Regions from separate parts of the Homo sapiens genome. Here all the other regions are linked to region 1. The links are contacts of gene promoters, found by promoter capture Hi-C in blood cells and fetal thymus (Javierre and others, 2016). All regions are on one chromosome and are shown on one strand. The core of a region is centred on a gene start or on the middle of the fragment in contact, and the rest is flanking DNA. Distances in the headings are between cores, read along the strand shown.

Region 1 (4,917 bases), core at 977-3,476:
ACTGATGTCCCCCGAGCAGGAAGATATTCTGCCAGTCAATTGCCTTTGGCTGAAACGCAACTCTTCACTGGGGCTCAAGCCTCCCAGCCTACACCACACACTTTGGACTTGCCAGCTTCCACAATTGTGTGAGCAAACACCTTAAAATCTCTTTCTTGTAAACTTGTTTAAGCTCTTTGTAGATTCTAGGTATTGGCCCTTTGTCAGATGGATAGATCGCAAAAATTTTCTCCCATTCTGTAGGTTGCTTGTTCACTCTGATGATAGTTTCTTTTGCTCTGCAGAAGTTCTTTAGTTTAATTAGAGCCCATTTGTCTATTTTGGCTTTTGTTGCCATTGCTTTTGGTATTTTAGTCATGAAGTCTTTGCCCATGCCTATGTCCTGAATGGTATTGCTTAGGTTTTCTTCTAGGGTTTTTATGGTTTTAGGTTTTACGTTTAAGTCTGTAATCCATCTTGAGTTAATTTTTGTATAAGGTGTAAGGAAGGGATCTAGTTTCATCTTTCTGCATATGGCTAGCCACAAGGAAAAAACAACCAACCCCATTAAAAAGTGAGCAAAGGATATGAACCGACACTTCTCAAAAGAAAACATTTATGCAGCCAACACTCACATGAAAAAATGCTCATCATCATTGGTGATTAGAGAAATGCAAATCAAAACCACAATGAGATATCATCTCACGCCAGTTAGAATGGCGATCCTTAAAAAGTCAGGAAACAACAGATGCTGGAGAGGATGTGGAGAAATAGTAACACTTTTACACTGTTGGTGGGAGTGTGAATTAGTTCAACCATTGTGGAAGACAGTGTGGCAATTCCTCAAGGATCTAGAACTAGAAATACCATTTGACCCAGCAATCCCATTACTGGGTATGTACACAAAGGATTATAAATCATTCTACTATAAAGACACATGCACAGGTATGTTTATTGTGGCACTGTTCACAATAGCAAAGACTTGGAACCAACCCAAATACCTGTCAATGATAGACTGGATAAAGAAAATGTGGCACATATACACCATGGAATACTAAGCAGCCATAAAAAGGGATGAGTTCATGTCCTTTGTAGGGACGTGGATGAAGCTGGAAACCATCAATCTCAGCAAACTAACACAAGAACAGAAAACCAAACACCACATGTTCTCACTCATAAGTGGGAGTTGAACAATGAGAACAAATGGACACAGGGAGAGGAACATCACACACCGGGGCCTGTTGGGGGGTGGGGGGCTGGGGGAGGGATAGTATTAGGAGAAATACCTAATGTAGATGATGGGTTGATGGGTGCAGCAAACAACCATGGCACATGTATACCTATGTAACAAACCTGAAGGTTCTGCACATGTGCCCCAGAACTTAAAGTATATATTTAAAAAATCTCTCTTTTTCTTTCCCTCTATATTTTGGTTCTCCTTTCTGGAGAACCCTGACTAAGAACACACCTGACCTCTAACCATTTATGCCTATTTTATAGATGAGAAAATTGAGGTTCAGAGGTGTTGAGTGCCATGCCCAAGGGGATACTCCTGGTACATGGTAGAGCCAAGATCTCAGTCCAGGTCTTTCTGAGACAAAACACAGCTTCTTATGCGTGAAATCCACAAATAAGAACACAATGACCTACATACAACACAAACTGTACTTCCAATTAAGTAGTTCTCCTTTTTAATCATTCAAAAACTACCTTGGGATCTTACAGTGCATGGGAATCATCAATATGTAAATACCTTATTATCCAGGTGATGTGCAAAAGTGTCCAGTAGCACAGAAGATTGGTTAATAGGATGGTGTGTCCCAGCTTTTTACTGCACTTGTACTTGCTTCGAATATTTAGGACCCCTATATAAAATTATCTTCTCCAAAGTCATAATTTCCAAGAAGATCTTATACCCACACTATTTTCATAAGTAGTCAACTGCAAGATCTTTAGAACCATGAGGGGATCTCAATACACAACAATTTAAGATTAACCATTTTGTTGAATGTAAGATTATATCCCCTCCAAAGAATGAAATTAAAATAGAGAAAAATAAACAGCACACGTGGAATCCTGAGCCTCTTGATGCCTTTTGCCTTGGGCTAAAGTTCTCTTGTGAGTTGTAAACTTCAAAAGTGTCCTCAAACTGGAACCTTTCCATAGGAAAAGTCAGCAGAAAATATTGACCCCAGGATCAATTGTTTCTGTTTAAGTTACAGATTGCTGCAGTCAAAATAAGCAGCCAGTGTTTGATAAAGACAGCTCCTCTTAGGAAGAACTGTCATCCCCAAACACATAGAGAGACACTCTCTGTCTCTCGATTACAATCATGATTTCCAGAATGGAGAAGATGACGATGATGATGAAGATATTGATTATGTTTGCTCTTGGAATGAACTACTGGTCTTGCTCAGGTAAGGTATTCACCAACCTGGCCACCTGCTCTGGATCATGCAGAGCCATGCTGGCGCCTGTGTCTTGTCTCACTGTGCCCCATGTGCTTGCGTGTCCAGGTTTCCCAGTGTACGACTACGATCCATCCTCCTTAAGGGATGCCCTCAGTGCCTCTGTGGTAAAAGTGAATTCCCAGTCACTGAGTCCGTATCTGTTTCGGGCATTCAGAAGCTCATTAAAAAGAGTAAGTGCAAAATGAAATCTTCTCTACTCCTCCTTCCAATGCTGTCTGCCTTTTGTCAGTTCATTGGATATACTTTTAAGAAATTTTCTCCAGTTTAAAAATGATAGTAGCTAGTCATCTCTTTCATACTGTCTCTTTTCTTTGACAGAGAAAGATTTAATTACAATTTTTTGTCATGAGGCTATCCAAACCACTTTTGATGACTGATTCTTCTGCTGTATTCTCCTCTCTAACCTTGTCTTCTGGTTCCCTGCAGCCTGCTTTTGTACTTGAAGTCCTCGCGATTCTTTCTGAGGTGTTTTATTACGAACTTCTCATTTATTGGAAATGAGCCTCCTTTCAAATTCAGCAGTTCTGCTCCTAATACTTACTGGAAATAATCTGGCTTTTGAGTCAAAGAAATTCACCTTTCCTTGTCAATTTGGTAATAGTCTGTTTCCTCTTAGCTTTGGGAGCTAAAGAAAGAGTAATCACTTGGGCTTCCAATGACTAAGTCTGTGATATGCAAGGAAAGAAATGTAAAAATATCCTTCAAAGGAAATGAGAAACATAAGCAGCAAGTCATCTCCCTTCTTCCTGTTCCCCAGGTAATTTCACTGCCTTATTATCATCTGCATGGGGCTCATTTGGAGGTAGGGATGAACATATTTTCAAGCAAATTTAGGTTAAGGTGGGAGGTAGAGAGGTTCTATAAAGTTGCACATCTTAGGAATGAAGGCTCTGTATAGCCAGGCAGCATGGGAATGAGAATGAAGACACGGCTGAAGGTCCAGGCAGCAGAGGCCAGATGGACATTGCTTTCTCTCTGTCTGCCTGCTGCCTTCTCCCATCCCTCCTGGACTGACTCTTAGCTTGTTCCCTCTGCTACTCTGTAGAGCACATGGCTCATGATTTCCTAGTTCTAGTCTCCAAATACAACATATTCAGCTTGATCTTCCTCAGAACCTGGCTCCTAGTTTCTCTTTTCCAAATTTCAAGGGAAATGAATCAAAAGGACCCAGTTTTATTTTCTAGTTTGATTATAGTTCATGAAGACTATGGGCTATGCTTTTTTTTAGGTGCCATTCCAGAATCATGGCCAGAGTGGAGTCACTTGCTCTGGATGTTGTGGTGTGGAGGCACTGGTCAGCTGCCACACCAAAGGTTGAGCTGCTCCTGGATCAGAATACAGAACCCCCTTTCCTTGCTTGTATTGTATTTCAAATGCCAGTTTCCATTGGCATTTAATGAAATCCACTTGTGGTGGTGTGGAATCGGGGTCTTTTTGCCAACCTTGCAGATGAACAGTTTAAATTTACTTTTGATTTAGCTATTGCTCACCACAGAAGAAAGTTAGCAGTTTATTAGATGAATAAGAGCATGAGGATAGATCCCAAGAGAACCAATTACTGACACCGTGGAAATCTGCCCTGTGGAGATGAGCTATTGTGAGGCACAGCCACCAGAGCGTGTTCTGGCTCATGTGCCATCTTGGTATAGTCACCCAGACTTGAGCCCAGACGCACATGCACCTAAAAATAGATACAATTATATGCGATGTGTGTGACTCTTGATGAGCACATGAAAAATGTTGCCTCTCCACCTCAAGTACACTGCTCCTTTACCTGGAGGTCTGCCTATTCTTGCCTCTCCCTGCCTTTTCTGATTATTCAAATTCATTGGTCAAGCTACAGTCACCGTGCCCTCTTGTTGAGAACTCTATTTCTTCTCCCACTGGAAGGGAGATTCTCTTCCTTTGATCTCTCCTGGTGATATTTTTTTCTATTGGGAGTGTTTCATATTTTGATTTATGTTGTGTGTATTAACCATGTCTTCTATAAACACCCTATAGATGGCTCCAAATATACCAATTCTCTCTACCCTAGCAGACATGAGGGATACACTAAAAGGCAAAGCCCTCAGGAGAGAGTTGAGTGAATAGATCACTAGCACTGGGGTTACAAACAATTCACGAAAGAGGAAATACAAAAGACTAAGAAAGATTTGGAAAGCTATTCAACCTCCCTAATAGAAGAAAAGTGCAGAATTAAAATAGCAATGTGAAAAAGAAGAATAACAAGGTAAAAGAATAACGGTGAAAAAAACATCACAACTGCCGCTCGAGAGTTTGGAATTTTGTAAAATTGTATTTGAAAAGCAAGTTGGAAATATGTGTTAAACATATTTACTAGCATGTTAAACGTTAAATTAGTAAATATTTAAAACTTTCAATTGCATAGTTTCACTTCTAAGAATATGTTCAAAGCAAATAAGTGGTTTAGTCATGAGTATTTGGGGGTACAGTTCAATGGTTGTAG
Region 2 (4,917 bases), core at 1,178-3,677, 220 kb after region 1:
CAGTATTTAATAAGCTGAATACATACACTCTCATACCCTGCTGGTGAGGGTGTACATCGACACTGGAAAACTGATCATCAGTATTTAATAAGCTGAATACGTACACCTCATTACCCAGAAATCACAGTCCTCGGTACATATTCAGCAGAAATGTACACACGAGTTTACCAAAATACTTTTACTAAAATATTCATAGCAGCTCTATTCAAAATAGCCCCAAATTGGAACCTGTCCACAGGCTCAGCAACAATAGAATGGATCAATAAATTGTAGTATATTCACAGAGTATAATACCTAATACCACACAGTTACTGAATGAATAATCTACAGCTCCATGCAAGAATATCATTAAAATCTCACAAACATAATGTTGAATGAAAGAAGTCATATTTGAAGTGTCAATCAAGGAAAATGACCGAGTGAAGTCTCAATCATTTTAGAAGGTTTATTTGCCAAAGCTAAGGACATGCCAAGGAGACAGGTCTGTGCTTTCTCTGAAGACGATTTCGAGGGCTTCAATATTTAAAGGGGAAAGGGCTGGATATTGAAAAATACACAATTTTCTTGTGAAAGGGGGATTAGGGGAAAATAGCCATTCATGCCTCTGTCTGACTCAGTGAATTTGCAGTTATACATAAGACAATACAGACAATAGGGCAGAGGGAAGAACCAGACATGCATTTGTCTCAGCTGGGCAGAGGGATGGCTTTGAGTTCTGTCCTATGTCCTCGCACCTGTGAAGACAAGCCATCAATTTACATTGCCATGGTGAAATTTAACAGAAACACTTTAGGGTAAGAATCTTGGGGCCCAACAGGAATTTCCTGGTGGGTAAAATGTGAGGGAGGTATGTAGCTTTTCATCTTTGTGGCCATCTTATCTAGGAACCAAAATCGGAGGCAGGTTTGCATGACCCGGTTCCCAGCTTGACTCTTCCCTTTGACTTAGTGAGTTTGGGGTCCCAAGATCTATTTTCCTTTCACAGAAGGAAGTCAATACTGAGAGAAAAGAGAATATATCACAATTCTATTTTTACTTTAAGAAACGGCAAAACTTCATCAGTGCTGTTATGCTCTATGTGGGATTGTGGTTACCCTTAACAAATAGTGACTGGTAGGAGTATGAAAATGTCTTCTGCGGGTGCTTGTTTCTTAACCTCTTTGCTGGTTACATGGTGAATTTCCATTGGTGAAAATGCATCTAGTTGCCCACTTAGGATATGGGTGCTTTTCTAAATGTATATTATACTTGTGAAAATTCTCAGAATCAAAATGGAGTCACTTGTGACAAACCCTAATAAAATGGAGTTGGGAGGCCTTGAAGAGAGGGTCTTCATGCATATTTCCCTGATAGCAAGAACGATCACAGAGAATGGACAAACCACACCTTGCAGTTAAGGTCATTCTTATGAGAGCACCTTTCCAATAACAGCCAGTCCTAACTGAAACCTTTTAAGTAGCCATATATATATATATATACATATACACACATAATACTTTAAGTTCTAAGTCAGTGTCACTTCTGTGAAGACCCTCTCCTAAAAATGGCCAGTACACACATCACTGCCTGTGATAAGCCTCTGTAGACAATGAACTTTTGCTTCAAAGCAACCTGCATATACTTCCCCTCTTTGCCTTTAAAAGTTTCCCTAGCCTCAACTTCCCCAGATGCATCTATAGTTTGCTATAGCACATGTATTCCAAATTATAATTCCTCTGCCATTTCTCAGTAAACTAATTTCTTTACAGAACCACTCTGCCTGTTGTTATTTTAGGTTGACACACTTCAATAAAAAGCTTAAACAAGGTGTGCGGAACTGCTGTGTGCCTCAACCTTGGTGGTGGTCAAAGAAATCTACCTATGTGATAAAGTTGCATGGAACTAAATACCCACACACACAACAGAGAGCACATAAAACTGGAGAAATCTGAGGAAGTGGGTACATTGAAAATAACTTTTTTCCTCCATTCTTCATGAGTTCTTAGCCGGAACTCCCTGTGATGGAAGACAGATTAACAAGAGAAAAACAAACAAGTTTGGAACCGCCTTTGCAAAATTATGACTGAGACAATGAAGGAGATCTAACCTAACTGACTCCATCTTACTTCTAACCTTTAAGCTGTCCTTGTTCCTTCCTGGGCTTAGGCTGAACTAACTTTGGTAGGAACTTGGTTTATAGTTTAAAACAAAGACAAAAACAGCCCTTTCCTAGAACAAACCTTCTTGCCTGGGGACTAGACTGCCTCTGTAGGAATAACAAATTAGCCACAAGATTAGAAATTAAGGTTTAGGAGTCATGCAGCTGGAGGCTACAAGATTCTGACCCTCCCTAAACTGCTCCTGAGATCAGGGCTTGAGATATTTTGCAGACCCAGCACTTGATGGACCAGCTGGCCCCGCCCAGATCGATGAACTGGTTTATCCGATCTTGTGGCCCCCACCCAGGAACCGACTCAGTGCAAGGGGACAGCTTCAATTTCCCATGATTTCATCTCCTACCTAACCAATCAGCACTCTTGGCTCACTGGCTTCCCCCCACCCACCAAGTTGCCCTTAAAAATTCTGATCCCCAAATGCCCTGGGAGACTGATTTGAGTAATAATAAAACTCCAGTCTCCCGCACAGCCGCCTCTGCGTGAATTACTCTTTCTCTATTGCAATTCCCCTGTCTTGATAAATCAACTCTGTCTAGGCAGCAGGCAAGGTGAACCCACTGGGTGGTTACAAGTTTAATAACACAAATACCTCCTGTATATGTAAGAGATACCCAGAGAGATGAGTAAATTAGAGTAGATCTCAAAGAGTTGTCTTCAGGCTTAAATGCCATTACTCGCTGAAACATAGGAGGATGTGGGCAAAGTTCTGGTTAAGGTGAGATGGCCAGGAAGAGCACCATAAACCCAGGGTAAGGTTTGTTATCAAATTTAAGTCTTCTCCATTGATTAGAGTCTCTAGTGATTTAGTCATCCTCCTCTTCCTGGTGCACAGAGGGAGACGCCCTTACAAATAGAGATTTCCTTTATAGACATCAATTTCCTTACAAAAGGAACTCTGCTTTCAAAGCTTTTCCTGTGCCTGCCTTTTCCCAAAATAATCAGCACAAAATAATCCTTATGCCAAAGAGGCATGTTTTGGGGAGATATGCCCTGAGCCCCATCATTGTCATTGTCAATTTCATGGTTGTTATGCTGTATTAAAATTATGCAAGATGCCAGACGTGGTGGCTCACACCTGTAATCCCAGCATTTTGAGAGGCTAAGGCAGGTGGATCACCTGAAGTCAGGAGTTCGAGACAGCTTGACCAACACGTTGAAACCCCGTCTCTACTAAAAATACAAAAAAAAATTAGCCAGACATGGTGGTGGGTGCCTGTAATCCCAGCTACTCCGGAGGCTGAGGCAGGATAATCCCTTGAGCCTGGGAGGTGGAGGTTGGAGTGAGCCGAGATTGCGACGTTGCACTCCAGCCCGGGTGACAAAGTGAGACTCTGTCTCAAAAAAAAAAAAAAAAAAAAAAAAAAAGGCAACATGTTACCATTTGGGTAACAACTGGGGTCTCTCTATTTGTTTCTTACAACTGCATGTAAACCTACAATTATCTAAAAATGAAGTTTTTTTTTAAGTGTGTGTATATGTCTAGAAAAGACCTTGAAAAGGTGTTAAGTCATGACATTGGCAGTGGATAAGTATAAGATGATGAATAGGATTAGGCAGAGAAACGAAAGGTGAGTCTTGCTCAGTGTATTTATGTATCCTTGAATCTTTTTCTATAAGAATGTATTCATATGTCATGTTGTGTATTTTAAGAAAAAAAGACAATTTCTTTACTCTCCCCACCCCCAAAAAAATTGATTTCCAACTCTCCCAGACCAACTGAGTTGTTCAGGCATAAATTAATAAAACACATTTTCACCCCAAGGTCAAACATACAGTGGCCCTTATGGGCACTGATTGGTTATATAAAGTAGTTAAGTTGGTGATAATTACACTAGCATAGAAGCTTTAGGAAGCCTCTGGACCTGCTGCAAAAATAGCCACCAAATTCTGAAGTGGCTGAAGGTCCTTTCAAATCCCAGTCGCCTCCTGCTGCATGATCAGAGTGTCCCAGCATGATCCTATCTGCCTCAGTGCCTGAGGAATGGTAAGCAAGCCATGGGAATTCTGTATGAACCCCAGAGAGAGCACCTGCCAGGGAAACTGTGTGACTGATTAGGCCAAGGAGAATCAGAGTTCATTTTTGCATGGCCCTTTGCCCAAACCTCCCAGGCAAAAGTTTAGTGCTTACAAAATGAATATTTACTTTGAAACCATATGGAGCACCAGGTGTAAGAAAGCATGTATCTATTATTTTACCTCACTCCCTCTATGGCTCAAATACGGTCTTTATTTTTCACTGAATGATGACAGCTCTTTAGAGCAGCACTAAAGTCTCCCACTCAGGTATAACTAAAAAAAATTATTTTTCTGAATTTTTACACCTATGTTATTTGGTGCACAGATTATTTTGTGTGTTGTAGCTCAGCCATTAATGGCTTTTTAATCTATCTGTAAAGTGACTCTGTGTCCTGGTTTATGTTTTCTGCCTAAAACCCTTTGTCTCATTAATTGCATATTAATTTTGCAATGTCTGTCTTTTTCTCATTATTGTTATTATCATTTTTGGTCCAGGGTTTTTAAAAGTTTAATTCTCTATTTCTCTTTGAGTGGGTTTCTTATAGAAAACTAGTTAATGATTTTTAATAGAGTACAAATTATGGAATTCAATAAGAGGATTAAAGCACTTTTACTGCCATGGTATTTTGCTAGATCTTTTCTAATCTTGTATATATTTTCTCATTCTGCCTTCCCCACTTTTCCTCTGTTTTTTGTTGTTGTTGTAAACTCTGTGCTTTATTTTTATTTACTTCTTTAAGAACTT
Region 3 (4,917 bases), core at 672-3,171, 210 kb after region 1:
AGTCTGACTTCCTAGAAGAGATGCTGATGGGACTCCAGGGGAAGTGTTTGTGCCCTCTGCATGCATTCCCATGTGCGCACACACACACACACACACCATATACACACCCCTGGCTCTCTACCTAGAATGTCCGACTCATCAGGAGCAAGTTGCATGCCCTGGTGAAGCTTAGTGCCTCTGCTGTGCAGGTGGGAGGGAAAGGCAACTTAGGAGCTTTAGAGCACTCCAGGCAGGCTGTAGGCCCCATCTCCTAAGAGCCTATGCTTTTATTTTTGTTTTTGTTAAAGACAAGGTCTCACTCTATTGCCAAGACTGGAGTGCAATGGTGTGATCATAGCTCTTTGAAGTCTCAAACTCCTAGGCTTAAGAGATCCTCCCACTCAGCCTCCCGAGTAGCTGGGACTACAGCCATCAGCCATGTGCCACCATGCTCAGCTAAGGTTTTTTTTTTTTTTTTTTTTTAAGAGAGACAGGGGTCTTGCTATGTTGCCCAGGCTGGTCTTGATCTCCTGGGCTTAAACAGTCCTCCCATCTCAGCTTCCCGAGTAGCTGAGGATTATAGGTGTGCACCACCGTGCCTGTGAGCCCATGCTTTTGAATGAGAGGGTGCTAGTGGGCTATTGTGTGGCACAGCCAAGCTTCCTTTCCAGGCATTATTTGTCTCTGGATGTGAAGCATTTCCTAGCAATCAGTGATGTGTTCTGTGTAGTCCTGTCCACACTGCATTTGCAAAAATCCCTCATGGATGCTGGGATGTGGTTAATTTCTGGTTTCACTTTGTAATGAAGATGCACATGTTTTCTGTTTTATGTTTTGGAGGTACATGTGTCTATGAACATAGAGACAGATGTGGACATATAGATTGATAGTCGCTTTGAAGACAATTTGAGGTGGTTTATGCTGTGGTTGTTTACATGAGAACAATGGGGAGGGAGAAGGAACCCCATGCTCCCTTGAGGTCCTTCTACCTGTCTCAGAAACCCCACATCTCAGATCCTCAACCAGATTGTAAGATCCTCAAACACAGGACAGGTTTTACTTACCTAGTGCTTCCCAGAGATGCCCAGTAGAGAGCCTTCTGCATCTTTCTGTATTTTTCCATTAGCTGATTTGGTAAACCTGATGAAGCAAATACTGTTTGGTTGAAACAATTTACATTGCTCTAGGCAACGCTATTCCTCAGCCAAATGAATTAGATGATTAATAAGTATAACACGTAATTGAATTCAAAGTCCACGTTTGCCATCCCCTAAGCAGAGGAGGTTTCGTTGTATATTGTTATTGATGGAAAGAAACTGAGGTACTTTGGCTAAACAAAAGAGGGTACAGATGGCATTGTGCTTCAACTACACAAAAGGAGCCTGCTTATATACATGCTTGCTGCATGCCAATTTCTGCTCTCTGGTATTTTAGTGGAGAAAGGAGATTTCTTTAAAGACACTAAAGTAAGTATCAACAAAGAAGTGATTTATCTTTATATCAGAATTTTGGCTTGGAGCACAATCAGGATTTTGGGTCTGTTTGGGGCTAAGTAGAAATATATGTGAGACCAAAATAGGTTTTTCCTGAACCTTCAAAACTATACACAGTGAAAGAAATATTAGCTTCAAAAATCAAAGTGATTGGATTTTCTAGAATCTGTATGATATGATGAGAAAATGTATGCAATATACATAAACCAGAATAGCCTTCCTTATTCAATGTTAACACTTTTTATAAGAAAGTATTAGACCTATTGATTTAGCAACTACATAATTATTGGTACTTGAAATACAGGCTTATAGAAACGAAGAAGTCAGAGTCACTCATTCAAAATGTAAGCATAAATATGACTTCCATTAGCAATACCGGATTCCTGGATAGAATGGCCCAGTCTAGTCATCCCAGCAGGTCAAAGTGGCAAACCAGGTCAACACCAGAAGAGGCCCTTACAAATCCAAACAGAAACTTCTTTCTAAACCAAATCATTTGGAAAACACCTGAGCAATCCATGAAGTTTTTTACTGAGGTGCAGACATTCCAAAAGCTAAGCAAATATTCATGTAATGAGTGCCCCAAGACCATCAGCCGTGGACCTGTCGTTACTTCAAACAAGTCAGGATTTCAGCCAGGTCAAGGTTGAAGAAGAATAATTTTGGTCTAAGCACCTGGCATTTGCTCTTAGGTGTGGTCAAACTATATATAGGTGGATGCCGCCAGTCTTTAGTTGAATTGGGCAAAGAACTCTGAGTTCAGTAGGGGTGTGTGTGTCTGTGTGTGTGTGTGTGCATTTGAAATCTTTTTCATCTTTAATGAAATCTATTTTTTAAATGTCCTTCTTGTCTAAGTGCAACTAAGAGAGAGACTGCCCATACTAAGAGATTGGGGTGTTTGCTCAGGGCAGGGGTACAAGGCACACCTATTCCTCACCCAGTGCAAGCTGGGGGGATGGAGGAATTAGATGACTCCTGAGTTCGCTGCTCTAACCAGAGAGGGAAGGGGCAAGCCTGCATTCTTGTCAAGGTGAGGATAATTCTGGCCTCATGTGACCCAGCTTTGCTGATCCTACCAGGTGAGCATTCCTGAAATAACTGCTATCCTCGTGGAGTCCTGTTCCTGGTCCTGTCTACTCAAGAGATTGTGGGTGTCGCCTGCCTTGAGTTGGCCACCCTCATGGGCTTCTTTGTTACTGGCAATCAAAGTCCTGATAACCTTGATGTGATACCCCTGCATTCATCCCAGGTAAAATTCTAATGAAAAGCCACTTCTCTCAGATCATCATGTGGGATGGTAGATTTCACCTGTTGACAGATACCTAGGGATAGATATGGACTTGGAAGTCAGGAGGACCTGGGTTCAAATCCCTACTCATCCACTTGTGGGCAAGAGAGCCTGGAAAATTTACTTACTCTAAAAACCTGTTTCATTGTCTATAAAGATGCAGATAATAACAATGACAATAGAATTTTATATGGACTGAATGAGCTAATCCAATGTAAATGTGTAACACTGGGTCTGATTTGGTAAAAAAGCACCATTTTATAAACATAGAGAGCAATTCAGGATGAGGAAAGGCAACAGAGTTCTATTACCTTTCAGGTCTCAGTTCATGTCAATATCAATTTTGAAATGTCATTCAACAAAACAAGTATATAGTGAGTTCTTATTAGGTGTCAGGCACAAATTCCAGGAGTTGGGTAAGACAGTCAGTGTCCCTACCCTCAGGAAGCTTACATTTTAATAAAGAAAGAAAGGAAAGAAGGGAGACAGGGAGGGAGGGAAAGAAAAAATAAAATGTAATTGATGTAGCAGTACAAACCCTCAGGCATTATGATAGGGGTGACTTTTGCAAATCCCCCCGATATGGTTTGGCTGTGTCCCCACCCAAATTTATCTTGTATCGTAGCTCCCATAATTTCCACGTGCTGTGAGAGGAACCTGGTGGGAGGTAATTGAATCATGGGAGCAGTTTCCCCCATGCTGTTCTCATGGTAGTGAGTAAGTCTCACAGATCTGATGGTTTTATAAAGGGAAACCCCTTTTGCTTGGCTCTTATTCTCTATTTGCCGGTCACCATGTAAGATAGCCTCTTGCTCCTTTTTCGTTTTCTGCCATAATTGTGAGGCCTCCTCAGCCATGTGGAACTGTGAGTCAATTAAACCTCTTTCCTTTGTAAATTATCCAGTCTTGGGTGTGTCTTTATCAGCAGCGTGAAAACGGACTAGTATACCCCCTAACCCTAACCCTAACCAAACAACTTTGATTTTGTCAGAAATAACCAGAGTTGGTTTTCTCAGTAATCACCACCAAATTTCTCACCATTGCATCTGGAAAAGTGGAAACAGCATTCTAGGACCCTGCCAAGGATGGGAAGGCCGGGAGGGGTGTGGCCTGTGTCTCAAGAACAATCTACCTGTAACCAGACAGGGTTGTTCATCTTTAGGAAATCCCTACTGCCCTAAGCTAAGACGGTGGATGTGAAAATGTCCCACTTGCTGGAGGAGGGAGCTTAACCTCGGAGAGAGCATTTCTGAGGCTTCTGTGGCATCTGTTAAGTCTTCAAACACATAGGACTCTCTCCAAGTCAAGCGACGAGAAAGTGCATTTTTCACAGTGCTTGCTGCAGCACGTTTCAGGGAGCATGTGTGGAGCCTCCTGGTGGGGAGAATACCTGGCAGCTGCCAGACACATTCACTGTGGGATTCTGTGGCTCGGAGCACATGTCCTGTGAGTCACAGGATATGAGACAGTGAGGAGGCAGAGGGTAGGGAGAGGGCAAGGCGCTCCAGAGGCTGCAGCAAAGGAGAGAGGGGGATGCCTTATTTCTCTTAATTTTTAACCTATATAGGCAATTTTGCAATAAAATGGGTTGGCTACCAAGTATATTTCCCTAGAGCTCATGAAGCATTGGATCCTTTGATTGCAGAAATCCAAAGATAACAAGGTGAAAATTCAACTCACAATCCATATTTCAATTTGCCATTTGTGGTTTGTAGTGATTGGTCTGAGCCTGTGAGTAATCTAATGGTGAAACATGGTTGCACGCTAGAAAAGCTGTAGTTTACAGCAAAAACCAAGGAGCTATGGGCAAAAACTTTAATCACTTCAAAAAGAAGTAATTCACCTGGAATCACCTTTCCTGCAGGCAGTGAGATGTGCGGAAACAGGCCCCGAGCTATAGGTAAGAACACCCAGGTGTTGGGGCTGCCCCTGCTGCTTATCAGTAGATCTCTGAGCCATCCATGCCCCACCTGGAAATACCCTGAGATCCTGTTGAATGAGGTTCTTTGCAAGCCACAGAATGCAATATGAGGATGAAAGTTTCTTTATAGTTGAATTTGTATAGTATCCATTGACAGCACAGTTCATATGGGACCACAAACAGAGATCCGTGTACCATGCACCCAGCACTATGCAACAGGCACCATGTACTAAGCA

Evidence for each region. The method cuts DNA at HindIII sites, captures the fragments that hold promoters and counts their contacts. A CHiCAGO score of 5 or more calls a contact.
Region 2: a contact is called between a fragment that was not itself captured here and the fragment with the promoter of SPP2 in region 1, in 1 of 17 cell types (total CD8 T cells). The highest score is 5.7, in total CD8 T cells.
Region 3: a fragment that was not itself captured here is called in contact with the fragment with the promoter of SPP2 in region 1 in 1 of 17 cell types (total CD8 T cells); the score reaches 5.8 in total CD8 T cells.

What each region holds. Positions count from the first base shown.
Region 1 is chr2:234,048,476-234,053,392 of GRCh38, forward strand. SPP2 (secreted phosphoprotein 2) reads left to right here and starts at 2,227. Exons shown (of 8, transcript NM_006944.3): 1 at 2,227-2,396; 2 at 2,496-2,620. The coding sequence starts at 2,312. The HindIII fragment of the contact is 10,293 bases long and covers 1-4,917 here.
Region 2 is chr2:234,271,537-234,276,453 of GRCh38, forward strand. No RefSeq gene overlaps it. Among named protein-coding and RNA genes, the nearest start is that of LINC01891, 180 kb to the right of the region's middle. The HindIII fragment of the contact is 1,267 bases long and covers 1,795-3,061 here.
Region 3 is chr2:234,254,180-234,259,096 of GRCh38, forward strand. No RefSeq gene overlaps it. Among named protein-coding and RNA genes, the nearest start is that of LINC01891, 200 kb to the right of the region's middle. The HindIII fragment of the contact is 2,570 bases long and covers 637-3,206 here.